3 separate regions of the Homo sapiens genome follow, and all the other regions are linked to region 2. The links are contacts of gene promoters, found by promoter capture Hi-C in human tissues and cell types (Jung and others, 2019). All regions are on one chromosome and are shown on one strand. Each heading gives the region's core, a stretch centred on a gene start or on the middle of the fragment in contact. The rest is flanking DNA. Distances are from core to core; before and after follow the strand shown.

Region 1 (4,019 bases), core at 416-2,915, 230 kb before region 2:
TTGGCAAAAGTCATTGCCATTCTCTAGTGTCAACAAACCACAGGCATAATGCACTGCAGAAACCCACAGGGAACTCTGCCCTTGAAAGCTGGGTATCGTCCAAGGTTTCTCCCCATGTGATAGTCGGAAATATGGCCTCATGAGATGAGAAAGACCTGACTGTCCCCCAGCCCGACACCCGTAAAGGGTCTGTGCTGAGGTGGATTGGTAAAAGAGGAAAGCCTCTTGCAGTTGAGATAGAGGAAGGCCACTGTCTCCTGCCTGCCCCTGGGAACTGAACGTCTTGGTATAAAACCCGATTGTACATTTGTTCAATTCTGAGATAGGAGAAAAACCGCCCTATGGTGGGAGGTGAGACATGTTGGCAGCAATGCTGCCTTGTTATTCTTTACTCCACTGAGATGTTTGGGTGGAGAGAAACATAAATCTGGCCTATGTGCACATCCAGGCATAGTACTTTCCCTTGAACTTAATTATGACATAGATTCCTTTGCTCACATGCTTTTTGCTGACCTTCTCCTTATTATCACCCTGCTCTCCTACTACATTCCTTTCTGCTGAAATCATGAAAATAATAATCAATAAAAACTGAGGGAACTCAGAGACCGGTGCCGGTGCAGGTCCTTGGTGTGCCGAGTGCCGCTCTCCTGGGCCCACTGTTGTTTCTCTATACTTTGTCACTGTGTCTTATTTCTTTTCTCAGTCTCCCATCCCACCTGACTAGAAATACCCACAGGTGTGGAGGGGCAGGCCACCCCTTCAGATTATCAAGAACTCCAATGAAGCCAGCTAAATCTATTTGCCAATTGACTGAATTAACAAAGGCTTTCCAAATCTGATTTTTATTCATTGGAACTATAATCTTATCTGGATCTGAGCCACAAAGTTTAACAACTCTAAGGTGAGCTTGCCCAATCAAGATTGCCATCTGATCCAAGTATACTGTGAGTGTTCTAACAGTATTGTGAGGCAGAAAAGACCATTCAACTAAGTCCTCACTCTGAACTGTAACCCCTGTAGAAGAATGGAGAGTAGGGAACACAATGAACTGTAATGGTAAATTTGAGTCTATTCTATTAACCTGGGCCTGTTGTATTTTTTCTTCAATCATTTGTAATTCTTTGGCAGTCTCAGGAGTCAGTTCTCATTTACTATTGAGAGCAGGGTCACCTCTTAAAATAGAGAACAGATTAGACATAGCATAGGTAGGGATTCCCAAAGGAGGTCAAATCCAATTGATATCCCCTAATAATTTTTGAAAATCATTTAAAGTTTTCAGAGAGTCTTTTTGAATTTGAACCTCTTGGGGTCTAATTGCCCTTTCCTGATCCTGCATTCCCAAATATTGGAAAGGAGTGGATGTTTGAATTTTATCTGGTGCTATGAGCAATCCAGCATTGGCTACCACCTCCTGTAAATATGAATAACACTGGATAAGTCAGTCTTAACTTTTGACCGTACCCAATATGTCATCCATAAAATGAATGATATATGAATCAGGAAACTGATCTCTCACAGGTGGAATAGCCTTCCCCACAAAAGTTTGACAAATAGTAGGACTATTCAACATATCCTGCAGCAGGACTTTCCAATGATATCTGGCTGCTGGTTCCTTGTTGTTCATAGCAGGAATAGTAAAAGCAAATTTCACAAAATCAGACTCTGCTAGAAGAATATTTAAAAAGCAATCCTTCAAATCTATAATTACTAATGGCCAGTCTCTAGGAATCATGGTGGGGGATAGAAGCCCCAGCTGCAGGGCCCCAATCAGCTGAATGAATGTGTTCACCACACGTAAGTCGGTTAGCATGCGCCATCTGCTGGATTTTTTCTTTATTACAAACACCGGCAAATTCTATGGAGAAAATGTGGGCTCAATGCTTCCTTTGTTTAATTGCTCTTTGACTAATTCCTGTAAGGCCCCCAATTTTTCCTGAGTAAGTGGCCACAGCTCAACCCAAACAGGATTTTGGGTCTTCCATTTTAAGGGAATAGGACTTGGAGGCTCAACAGTGACCACCCCTAAAAATGGTAACCTACATGGGAGGTTCCAAGATGGCCAAATAGGAACAGTTCCAGTCTAGAGCTCCCAGCATGAGCGATGCAGAAGACAGGTGATTTCTGCATTTCCAACTGAAATACCAGGTTCATCTCACTGGAGCTTGTCAGACAGTGGGTGCAGGACAGTGGGTGCAGCCCACCGAGTGAGACCTGAAGCAGGGCAAGGCACCACCTCACCTGGGAAGTGCAAGGGGTCAGGGAATTCCCTTTCCTAGCCAAGGGAAGCTGTGACAGATGGCACCTGGAAAATCGGGTCACTCCCACCCTAATACTGTGCTGTTCCAATGGTCTTAGCAAATGGCACACCAGGAGATTATTTCCTACACCTGGCTTGGAGGGTCCCACACCCATGGAGCCTTGCTCATTGCTAGCACAGCAGTCTGAGATCGAACTGCAAGGTGGCAGCAAGGCTGGGGGAGGGGCGCCCACCATTGCTGAGACTTCAGTAGGTAAACAAAGCGGCTGGGAAGCTTGAACTGGATGGAGCCCACTGCAGCTCAAGGAGGCCTACCAGCCTCTGCAGACTCCACCTCTGGGTGCAGGGCATAGCTGAACAAAAGGCAGCAGAATCTTCTGCAGACTTAAATGTCCCTGTCTGACAGCTTTGAAGAGAGTAGTGGTTCTCCCAGCATGGAGTTTGAGATCTGAGAACAAACAGACTGCCTCCTCAAGTGGCTCCCTGACACCTGAGTACCCTAACTGGGAGGCACCTCCCAGTAGGGGCTGACTGATACCTCACACGGCCGGGTACCCCTCTGAGATGAAGCTTCCAGAGGAATGATCAGGCAGCAACATTTGCTATTCTGCAATATTCGCTATTCTGTAGCCTCTACTGGTCATATCCAGGCAAACAGGATCTAGAGTGGACCTCCAGCAAACTCCAACAGACCTGCAGCTGAGGGTTCTGACTATTAGAAGGAAAACTAACAAACAAAAAGTACATCCACACCAAAACCCCATCTGTACGTGACCATCATCAAAGACAAAAGGTAGATAAAAACACAAAGATGGGGAGAAGCCAGAGCAGAAAAGCTGAAAATTCTAAAAATCAGAGCACCTCTTCTCCTCCAAAGGAATGCAGCTCCTCACCAGCAATAGATCAAACCTGGATGGAGAATGACTTTGATGAGTTGAGAGAAGAAAGCTTCAGATGATCAAACTTCTCTGAGCTAAAGGAGGATGTTTGAACCCATCACAAAGAAGCTAAAAACCTTGAAAAAAGATTAGACGAATGGCTAACTGAATAACCAGGGTAGAGAAGACCTTAAATGACCTGATGGAGCTGAAAGCCATGGCACGAGAACTACATGTGCAAGCTTCAGTAGCTGATTCAATCAACTGGAAGAAAGGGTATCAGTGATTGAAGATCAAATGAATGAAATGATGTGAGAAGAGAAGTTTAGAGAAAAAAGAGTAAAAAGAAATGGAACAAAGCCTCCAAGAAATATGGGACTATGTGAAAAGACCAAATCTACATCTGATTGGTGTACCTGAAAGTGATGGGGAGAATGGAACAAAGTTGGAAAACAGTTTTCAGGATATTATCCAGGAGAATTTCCTCAACCTACCAAGGCAGGCCAACATTCAAATTCAGGAAATACAGAGAATGCCACAAAGATACTCCTCAAGTAGAGCAACTCCAAGACACATAATTGTCAGATTCACCCAAGTTGAAATGAAGGAAAAAATGTTAAGGGCAGCCAGAGAGAAAGGTCGAGTTACCCACAAAGGGAAGCCCACCAGACTAACAGTGGATCTCTCAGCAGAATCTCTACAAGCCAGAAGAGAGTGGAGGCCAATATTCAACATTCTTAAAGCAAAGAATTTTCAACCCAGAGTTTCATATCCAGCCAAACTAAGCTTCATAAGTGAAGGAGAAATAAAATCCTTTACAGACAAGCAAATGCTGAGAGATTTTGTCACCACTGGGCCTGCCTTACAAGAGCTCCTGAAGGAAG
Region 2 (3,776 bases), core at 478-2,977:
AAGATGGCTCCACCCCAGAAGGCTGGAAAACCCCATGTCCAGTGCTTGCGGCCTCGTCTGGAGTGGCTGTCAAGTGACCCAGAACTGCATAGCCCCTGCTGTGTACCAGGCTGTGTGGTCTCCCGTGAAGGTCAAGACTGAGCCCAGTCACACAGTCCTCAGGACTGTCAGGTGGATGCTGGCAGGGCCATGTCTCTTCCAGCCTTAAAGCGGCCTGGTCAGTCTCCTGGCTGCACGTAGGGTCTTGGTAGCCGCATCTCATCCCAGAGACCCGTGAGACCATCTTGGGGACCCCACAGCCTGTGTGTCCAAGCACTCTTCTCACCTCTATCCCGCACCCAACTCTCCTTCTGCTCCTCCAGAGAAGCAGATTTGTTCAGGAGTGACGGACAGGCTGGGCCTGTGGGCCAATTTTGGGCTGACCCCAGAACCCCTCACCCTGCCCCCAGGGTCCAGTCCTGCCCCTCAGCCCCTGGCCCTAGCTGTGGGCTGTGCTGCTTCCTGAGTCCCCACCGGGCAGCTCCTCCTCCATCCCCCTGCCGACCCTAGGGGAGGGCCTCCTGCAGCAGCCCCTCCTCTCCCCTGTGAGCAACAGCGGGCACAGGACACCCTTCCACCCTCTCCTGTCTCCTTCTCACGATGTCAACCCTGCCTCAGCCCCTGCAGGGTCTAGGAAACACCCCACCTCCCAGTACCGACAGCAAGCCTCTCCCGCCCACTGGGACCCCCGCCTTCACCTCCTTGCTGCCTCCCCACCCACGGCCTCGCGTGTGCTCGACAGTGCTCACTCAGCCAGGGACTCTCTCCTGGAAAACCTCTTCCCCACCATCCCCCACCCGCGGCCTCGGGGTCCCACCCGTTAGGGGCCCGATTCCGCGAAGCCCCTCTCCACAGCACGTACCGCAGGACACCCCCAGTCGGGCTGACTCTTTCCAGCTCAGGCCCCCACAGCCCCTCCCAGCCTCCATTTCTTGCTCCTTCCCCACCTCTCCCGCACAGGGTTCTGGTCAGGGTACGGTCCAGTCTCCCATTATTCGTCCACTCCGCAGCATGTGACCCAGCCCATCCCCGCTCCTTCTTCCTCGACCCGGGACCCTCCAGCTTGGCCCTCCCCACTTCCTGGGCCGGCCGGCCCTCACCCTCGGCAAGGATCCCGGGGCTCCTCTCCTCGACGCCCGACCTCTCCAAGGGCCTACAGTGGATAAGGTCCCCGCGTCCAGAAGCGCCCGTTCATCAGGGAGACGGACATTTGCCACCTGCAAACCATGACGTTCCACGAGTGGGTCCACGCGTCTCCCCTGCCCATCTCCTGCTCTGCACCAGCGAGAACCCCCTCGGCCTACACGGAAGCCCCTCACCAGGCAAGCCGGGAGCCCCAGACCCCGTGGCCCGGAGTGGGTCGCTCTGTGACACCCTGGACAGGTCACTCAACCACTTGGCGCCTCCTCGGCCACTCAGAAAACACCTGCCCTCCCGGAGACCCCGGTGAAAGCCGAGCACTCCTGCACCCTCCTTCCGAGCCCACGCACACCAGGACACCTTCAGCCGCGTCTCCTGGTGCGCCTGCGCGGGGGCCCTGGAGGAGGAGAAGTAGGCGGGGCCGGCGGCCGCTGGTGACTACAAGCCCCGGCGTGCACCGCGCTAGGCTGGCCGTGGCGCGCCCGGAAGGTGTCGCGGCCCTGGGCCCCGCCCCGGAAGATAAGGCCGCTCGCTGACGCCGTGTTTCCTCTTTCGGCCGCGCTGGTGAACAGGTAGGTCATCCTTGCGGCCTTGCGGCATGGGCAGTATCCGCCGCCATCCTCTTCCGTGAGGCGCGCTGAGACCCGGACCGGCCCTCCTGAGAGGATGCCGGTGCGGGCGCCCGCGGAGAGGGTAGGGAGTGGTGGGCGCGGCGGCCTCGGGGGCGGGGTCCCGGAAAGCCGGGCTGGCGGGGGTACCCGGGCCGCCCGGCCGCGCTAATCGTGAGTCGCCCCCAGGACCCGTCGCCATGGGCCGTGTGATCCGTGGACAGAGGAAGGGCGCCGGGTCTGTGTTCCGCGCGCACGTGAAGCACCGTAAAGGCGCTGCGCGCCTGCGCGCCGTGGATTTCGCTGAGCGGCACGGCTACATCAAGGGCATCGTCAAGGTGCGGAACGCTGGCCGGGGCGGGAGGGGAAGGGACGCCCGGCCGGAACGCCGCACTCACGCCGCCTCTGCCCACAGGACATCATCCACGACCCGGGCCGCGGCGCGCCCCTCGCCAAGGTGGTCTTCCGGGATCCGTATCGGTTTAAGAAGCGGACGGAGCTGTTCATTGCCGCCGAGGGCATTCACACGGGCCAGTTTGTGTATTGCGGCAAGAAGGGTTAGCATCGCGGCGGGGAAGGAAGGTCGGGGTGGGGAGGGGTCTGGGTGTTGCCTGAGGAGTTAACGTCCTAAGCCGATATGGGAACCTCGCAGGCAGAAGCTTCAGGTGGGGACATCCGCGTGGCCAGACCAGTGGCCACCGGTGGGTGCCGAGAGAGTTGTACCGGGAGGCTGGATGTTGAATGCTGTGCTCGCAACTTCGCGGGTTGCCTAGAGCGAGGGGGTTCGCATTGTTTCTTACTGTGCTGACGGCCTGATGCTGCTTCCCCTTGCAGCCCAGCTCAACATTGGCAATGTGCTCCCTGTGGGCACCATGCCTGAGGGTACAATCGTGTGCTGCCTGGAGGAGAAGCCTGGAGACCGTGGCAAGCTGGCCCGGGCATCAGGGAACTATGCCACCGTTATCTCCCACAACCCTGAGACCAAGAAGACCCGTGTGAAGCTGCCCTCCGGCTCCAAGAAGGTTATCTCCTCAGCCAACAGAGCTGTGGTTGGTGAGTATCAGGCAGCAGTTGAATGCTGAGGGCTGTGGGTGAACATGCTGTGAGTGCCGGTGGACAGCCAGTGGCTAGACTTGGTCCCTGGAATTCGATTACCTGTTGTTCTAAAACTTGGGTTCTGTAAGTTTGAGCTCATCCTGTAGTCTCAGTTGTCATCACTGTACAACAGGCACAACAGTACCTGCTTTACTGCTGTTGAGGCGTTAAATGAGATTGGGACGAAGTCACCAGGGTCTTGGATTCTACCGTGGGCTTCCTGATTGCTGCACTTGCATGCAGTTGGTTAACAGCCTTTTTAGAGAAGGCAGGGAGAGATTGTGGCTTTCTCAAAGACGCCTACTGAGTGAGTGAAAAAGGATTTGAGTCTAGGTTAACTCACTGTGCTGTTTGGGAACATCTTGGAATCCTTGTGATGAACTCAGCCTCGCACAGGGGAGGCTCTGAGGTTGTGTTCCTGGAATAAGTAAAGCTGAGATGGGGCAGGCTGAATCAAGTGTCTTACGTCAGGTTGAGTGGCCGGCCTGACGTCTCACACATGGTGAGGGGGGTGCTTCCCTGCGCTTGGAGCTCAGCCAGCATTCTAGGTGATGGAGGTGAGGGCCTTGGCTTGCCTGCCCATTGTGGATTGAAGAAACTGGATGTCAGCTCACAGGGTGCAAGGGGCTCCCTAGGGTGGAGGCGAGTGGGCTTTTTGCTGGGTAGTTGGATGCAGTATTGGGAAGGTGCATGACAGGAGATTGAGGGGAGGTGGGGGTGCTCTGACCGACTGGGGGTTCCCTGAGGTATCTGATCCCCTACAGGTGTGGTGGCTGGAGGTGGCCGAATTGACAAACCCATCTTGAAGGCTGGCCGGGCGTACCACAAATATAAGGCAAAGAGGAACTGCTGGCCACGAGTACGGGGTGTGGCCATGAATGTAAGTAACCCAGA
Region 3 (3,914 bases), core at 386-2,885, 130 kb after region 2:
GGAAGAGGCCCAAGGTGGATAATGGGGAGGGTGAGCAGTCCAAAGTGGATAACGGGGAAGAGGAAGCTGTCCAAGGTGGATAATGGAGATGCGGAAAGGGGGGCGGGGTGGGGGGTTGTCCAAGGTGAATAGTGGGGAGAGGGAGCAGTTCGAGGTGGATAATGGGGAGGAGGGAACAGTTCAAGGTGGATAATAGAGACACAGGAGGGGTCCAAGGTGGATAATGGAGAGGCGGGTAGTGGCCCAAGGCTGCAGTGAGCTGTGATCACACCACTGCACTCCAGCCTGGGCAACACAGCAAACCCCGTCTCGTTCATTCATTCATTTGTATGGTGGCTCCCACCTATAGTCTCAGTATTGTGGGAGGCTGAGGCGGGCAGATCAGTTGAGGGCAGGAGTTCGAGACCAGCCTGGTGGCCAGATGGCCTCAGGCCTTGGGCTGGTGTGAGGATTGGGAGGGGAGAAAGGGGAAGGCTGGTTAGAGGCTGTTTTCCTCTGAATGTGTTTAGCGGCAGGTGTGGATGGGGAGTGCTGGGTTAACCACAGGTGTTTGCCAGGTAAGCATGGGCCCAAGAGAGTTGAGACTATCACAGGAGTGAGGGTGCTGTTCCTGTTAGAAGGAAAGAGACCGAGGCCAGGTGGCTGGTGTGTGGAGCCCACCTCTGCAGGAGTGTCACGCGCGAATGCGCAAAGAGGAGCCGGGGAGAGGCTGAGATGTTGCTCACAGAGCTTTGGGAGCCTTGTGTGTGTAGAGTGGAATGGCCTCCTCCTGTGTGTAGAGTGGAATGGCCTCCTCTGCTCCACACTGCCTGTGTGTGAAGGGGCCATGGTGGTCCCGGAGTGGGTGAAGCTGCTGGGACCCTGTGTAGGACTGCATGTGTTTTCACGGCGGTGCTGAGAGGGCCGTCTGCAGCCAGACTGGACTGCAGCCTCCATCTCCTGGGCACAGGTGATCCTCCTGCCTCAGTCTCCTGAGCAGCTGGGACTACAGAGTCGTGTGCCACCATGCCTATTTTTTTTTTGAGATGGAGTCTCATTCTGTCACCCAGGCTGGAGTGCGATGGCACAATCTCAGCTCACTGCAAACCTCCACCTCCCAGGTTCAAGCAATTCTCCTGCCTCAGCGTCCCGAGTAGCTGGGACTACAGATGGACACCACCACTCTCAGCTAAGTTTTTTTTGTATTTTTAGTAGAGACAGGATTTCACCATGTTGGCCAGACTGGTCTCAAACTCCTGACCTCAAGTGATCTGCCTGCCTCGGCCTCCCAAAGTGCTGGGATTATAGGGGTGAGCCACCCACCCAGCCTTTTAAAAAATTATTCATTTATTTATTTAGAGATGGTTTTTATTGGAACAGAGCAGAAGTAGGAAGTCAGTCTGGGCCAAGATCCTGAGAGAAGTGTTTTCTAGAGCCTGCTGTCCTATGTGTGGCTGCTGAGCACGGAATCATGGCTTGCAAGACTGAGTATTAAATATTACTCAACTTTACTTTAAGCATAGTGACAAGTGACTAGTGTGTTGCACAGTGCAGTTCCAAGGAATGTGCTCATGCAAGGATTGTCCCTTTATTTTAGAGGCACCAGTGAATGCTTATCACGATGAAAGTGATGTGACCTTGGCTGGCTTTTTTGGAGATTCTTTAATATGGTAGTAGGGGTGAGATGGGGTTAGGGGAGGAAAGGCTGAAAGCATGAATAATCTTATATTATTTAACCAGAGGCCAGCAAGAGGGAATTCAGTCTTGAATTTGTGAGAGACCATTCAGGCTTGTGGGAATAGGTGCTGCAGAGCTGACGCCAAGGTGCCCTGGATGGGATGGACAGTGGTGGAGACCTAGGGTCCAGGAGGAGGAGACACGGGAGCATTCCACACCTTTGACCCAGGGGTCGGGGGCAGAGTGGCATGTGCTGTGGACAGAAAGAGATGCACAATGCAAGTGCATGTGGTGGTTGGGAAGAGTGATCTGGGGAGGAGGAGCATTGTGATTCAGGTGAGGGAACACCACCCAAGGAATGTCCATCTGGCATTTGTAAACTGAGGTGAACCTGGCATTTGGGAGAGAGGTGGTTGGGTAGAGAATTGGGACTTAGCTACAGAGGGATTATAACGGAGACTGGGGGAACAGAATGAGGAGTTCAAAGGGTAGCATGTAGAGGGAAATGCATCTTGGGGCGTCCCACAGTTAGAGTGGGGCTTGAATAAGTGGACCCCTCAAGACAGCCAGAGAATGGGGATGAGAGAAGCAATTGTTAGCTTAGCTCTGCAGAGAGCATGTGTCAGTGAGCTGTGAAGGGGTGGCAGAGCATCAGAACCAGCGAATAAGCCAAGGCCGGAAGATTTTGCAAAAAATTGTTTGGGATTCTCTGATTGCTTTGTTTAGGTCCCATGAAATAGTCTAGAAAATGTCCTCCAATTAAGCTTGAACTTGGAACATTGACTTAGAAATAACACTTGTCTCTCCACTCTTAGATCAGAGGGCTGGTGTGATTGAAAAGTGGGCACTCATTGGCCTCAGAGACGTTTTGTCATGGTTAAGACAGGACTCAATGGAAACAGAAAGTTGAACACGTGAAACTTTAGTTTTTTGTAGGTCAAAAACGATTGAAAAAGGCAACATCGTTTGATCATATCTAATTGTGTTAAGAAGCATTCTTCAAATGAGCAGCTTCCCAGCACGTGTTGGGAGTTACCAGGTGTTTCCTCCAAGCCTTCAGGGTGTGAATGTGTGGTTAGGCTGGTGGTAGGCTAATGGCTCTGGTCAGCATGTTGCTGGTTATCTAGCTGCCTGTCATTTTGATTACAGTAATTATGTCCTTTACAGTGTATATTATTAATTGCTGTTTGTGTCGAGTTCCCTGGGAAGTGGACTCTGAGTTGATTTGTCTTTAGGAAGTTTACTGAGGAATGCTTTTGGGATTAGCACCTGTGGAGTGAGTGAACAGAATAGGATTGGACAGAAAGACAATGGGGCTATTACACCCTAACCCTGTTGGGCTGCCACATCCATGAACCTGGTACACCTCCCCATGATTCAGGTCCTCTTAAATGTCTTTCATCAGTACTTTGTACTACTCAGTGCATGTATTTTGCCAAACTTATTTCTAATATTGGTTAAATTTAATATTTACCCCAATATTAAACATTAATATTTAATGTTTTAATTTTTTTACATATATAATCATTTTGTCTATGAATATAGTTTTATTTCTTCTTTCCTAATCCTTCTACCTTTTCTTTTTCCTGCCTTATTGCACTGGCTAGGACCTCCGGTAATGTGTCATGTTAGAGTAGTGAGGGGAAAGCAGTCAGTCTTTCGCTGTTTGTTATGATACACAGTCATCCCTCAGTGTCCATGGGGAATGGTTTTAGGACACCCTGTGGATACCAAAATTCAAGGATGATCAGGTCCCTGATTAAAAAATGCTGTAGTGGCCAGGCGCAGTAGCTCACACCTATAATCCCAGCACTTTGGGAGGCCGAGGCGAGCAGATCACCTGAGGTCAGGAGCTAGAGACCAGCCTGACCAACATGGAGAAATCCCATCTCTACTAAAAAATACAAAATTAGCTGGGCATGGTGGCACATGCCTGTAATCCCAGCTACTTGGGAGGCTGAGGCAGGAGAATTGCTTGAACCCAGGAGGTGGAGGTTGTGGTGAGCCAAGATCGCACCATTGCACTGCAGCCAGGGCAACAAGAGCAAAGCTCTGTCTCAAAAAAAAAAAAAAATTAGCCGGGTGTGGTGGTGGACACCTGTAATTCCAGCTACTTGGGAGGCTGAGGCAGGAGAATCACCTGAACCTGGGAGGCGGAGGTTACAGTGAGCCAAGATCGCGCCATTTCACTCCAGCCTGGGCAAAAAGAGCAAAACCTTGTCTCGAAAGAAAGAAGAAAGAAAGAAATGCTGTAGGAT

The links. Contacts are between HindIII fragments. The study calls those that stand out against the background at their distance.
Region 1: a contact is called between a fragment that was not itself captured here and the fragment with the promoter of RPL8 in region 2, in 3 of the 25 tissues and cell types used here (H1 embryonic stem cells, lymphoblastoid cells and small bowel).
Region 3: a fragment that was not itself captured here is called in contact with the fragment with the promoter of RPL8 in region 2 in 1 of the 25 tissues and cell types used here (dorsolateral prefrontal cortex).

Annotation. Positions count from the first base shown.
Region 1 is chr8:145,017,987-145,022,005 of GRCh38, reverse strand. No RefSeq gene overlaps it. Among named protein-coding and RNA genes, the nearest start is that of ZNF252P-AS1, 17 kb to the right of the region's middle. The HindIII fragment of the contact is 6,395 bases long and covers 1-4,019 here.
Region 2 is chr8:144,790,341-144,794,116 of GRCh38, reverse strand. RPL8 (ribosomal protein L8) reads left to right here and starts at 1,727. Exons shown (of 5, transcript NM_001317782.2): 1 at 1,727-2,125; 2 at 2,203-2,344; 3 at 2,622-2,840; 4 at 3,647-3,762. The coding sequence starts at 1,988. It overlaps MIR6850 (microRNA 6850), which reads left to right and starts at 2,126; the gene lies at 2,126-2,186. RefSeq lists enhancers at 1-635, 3,048-3,547, 3,548-3,776 and a silencer at 1,806-2,025. The HindIII fragment of the contact is 17,129 bases long and covers 1-3,461 here.
Region 3 is chr8:144,658,093-144,662,006 of GRCh38, reverse strand. All of the region lies in intron 1 of ARHGAP39 (Rho GTPase activating protein 39), which reads left to right. Among named protein-coding and RNA genes, the nearest start is that of ARHGAP39, 26 kb to the left of the region's middle. The HindIII fragment of the contact is 7,618 bases long and covers 1-3,914 here.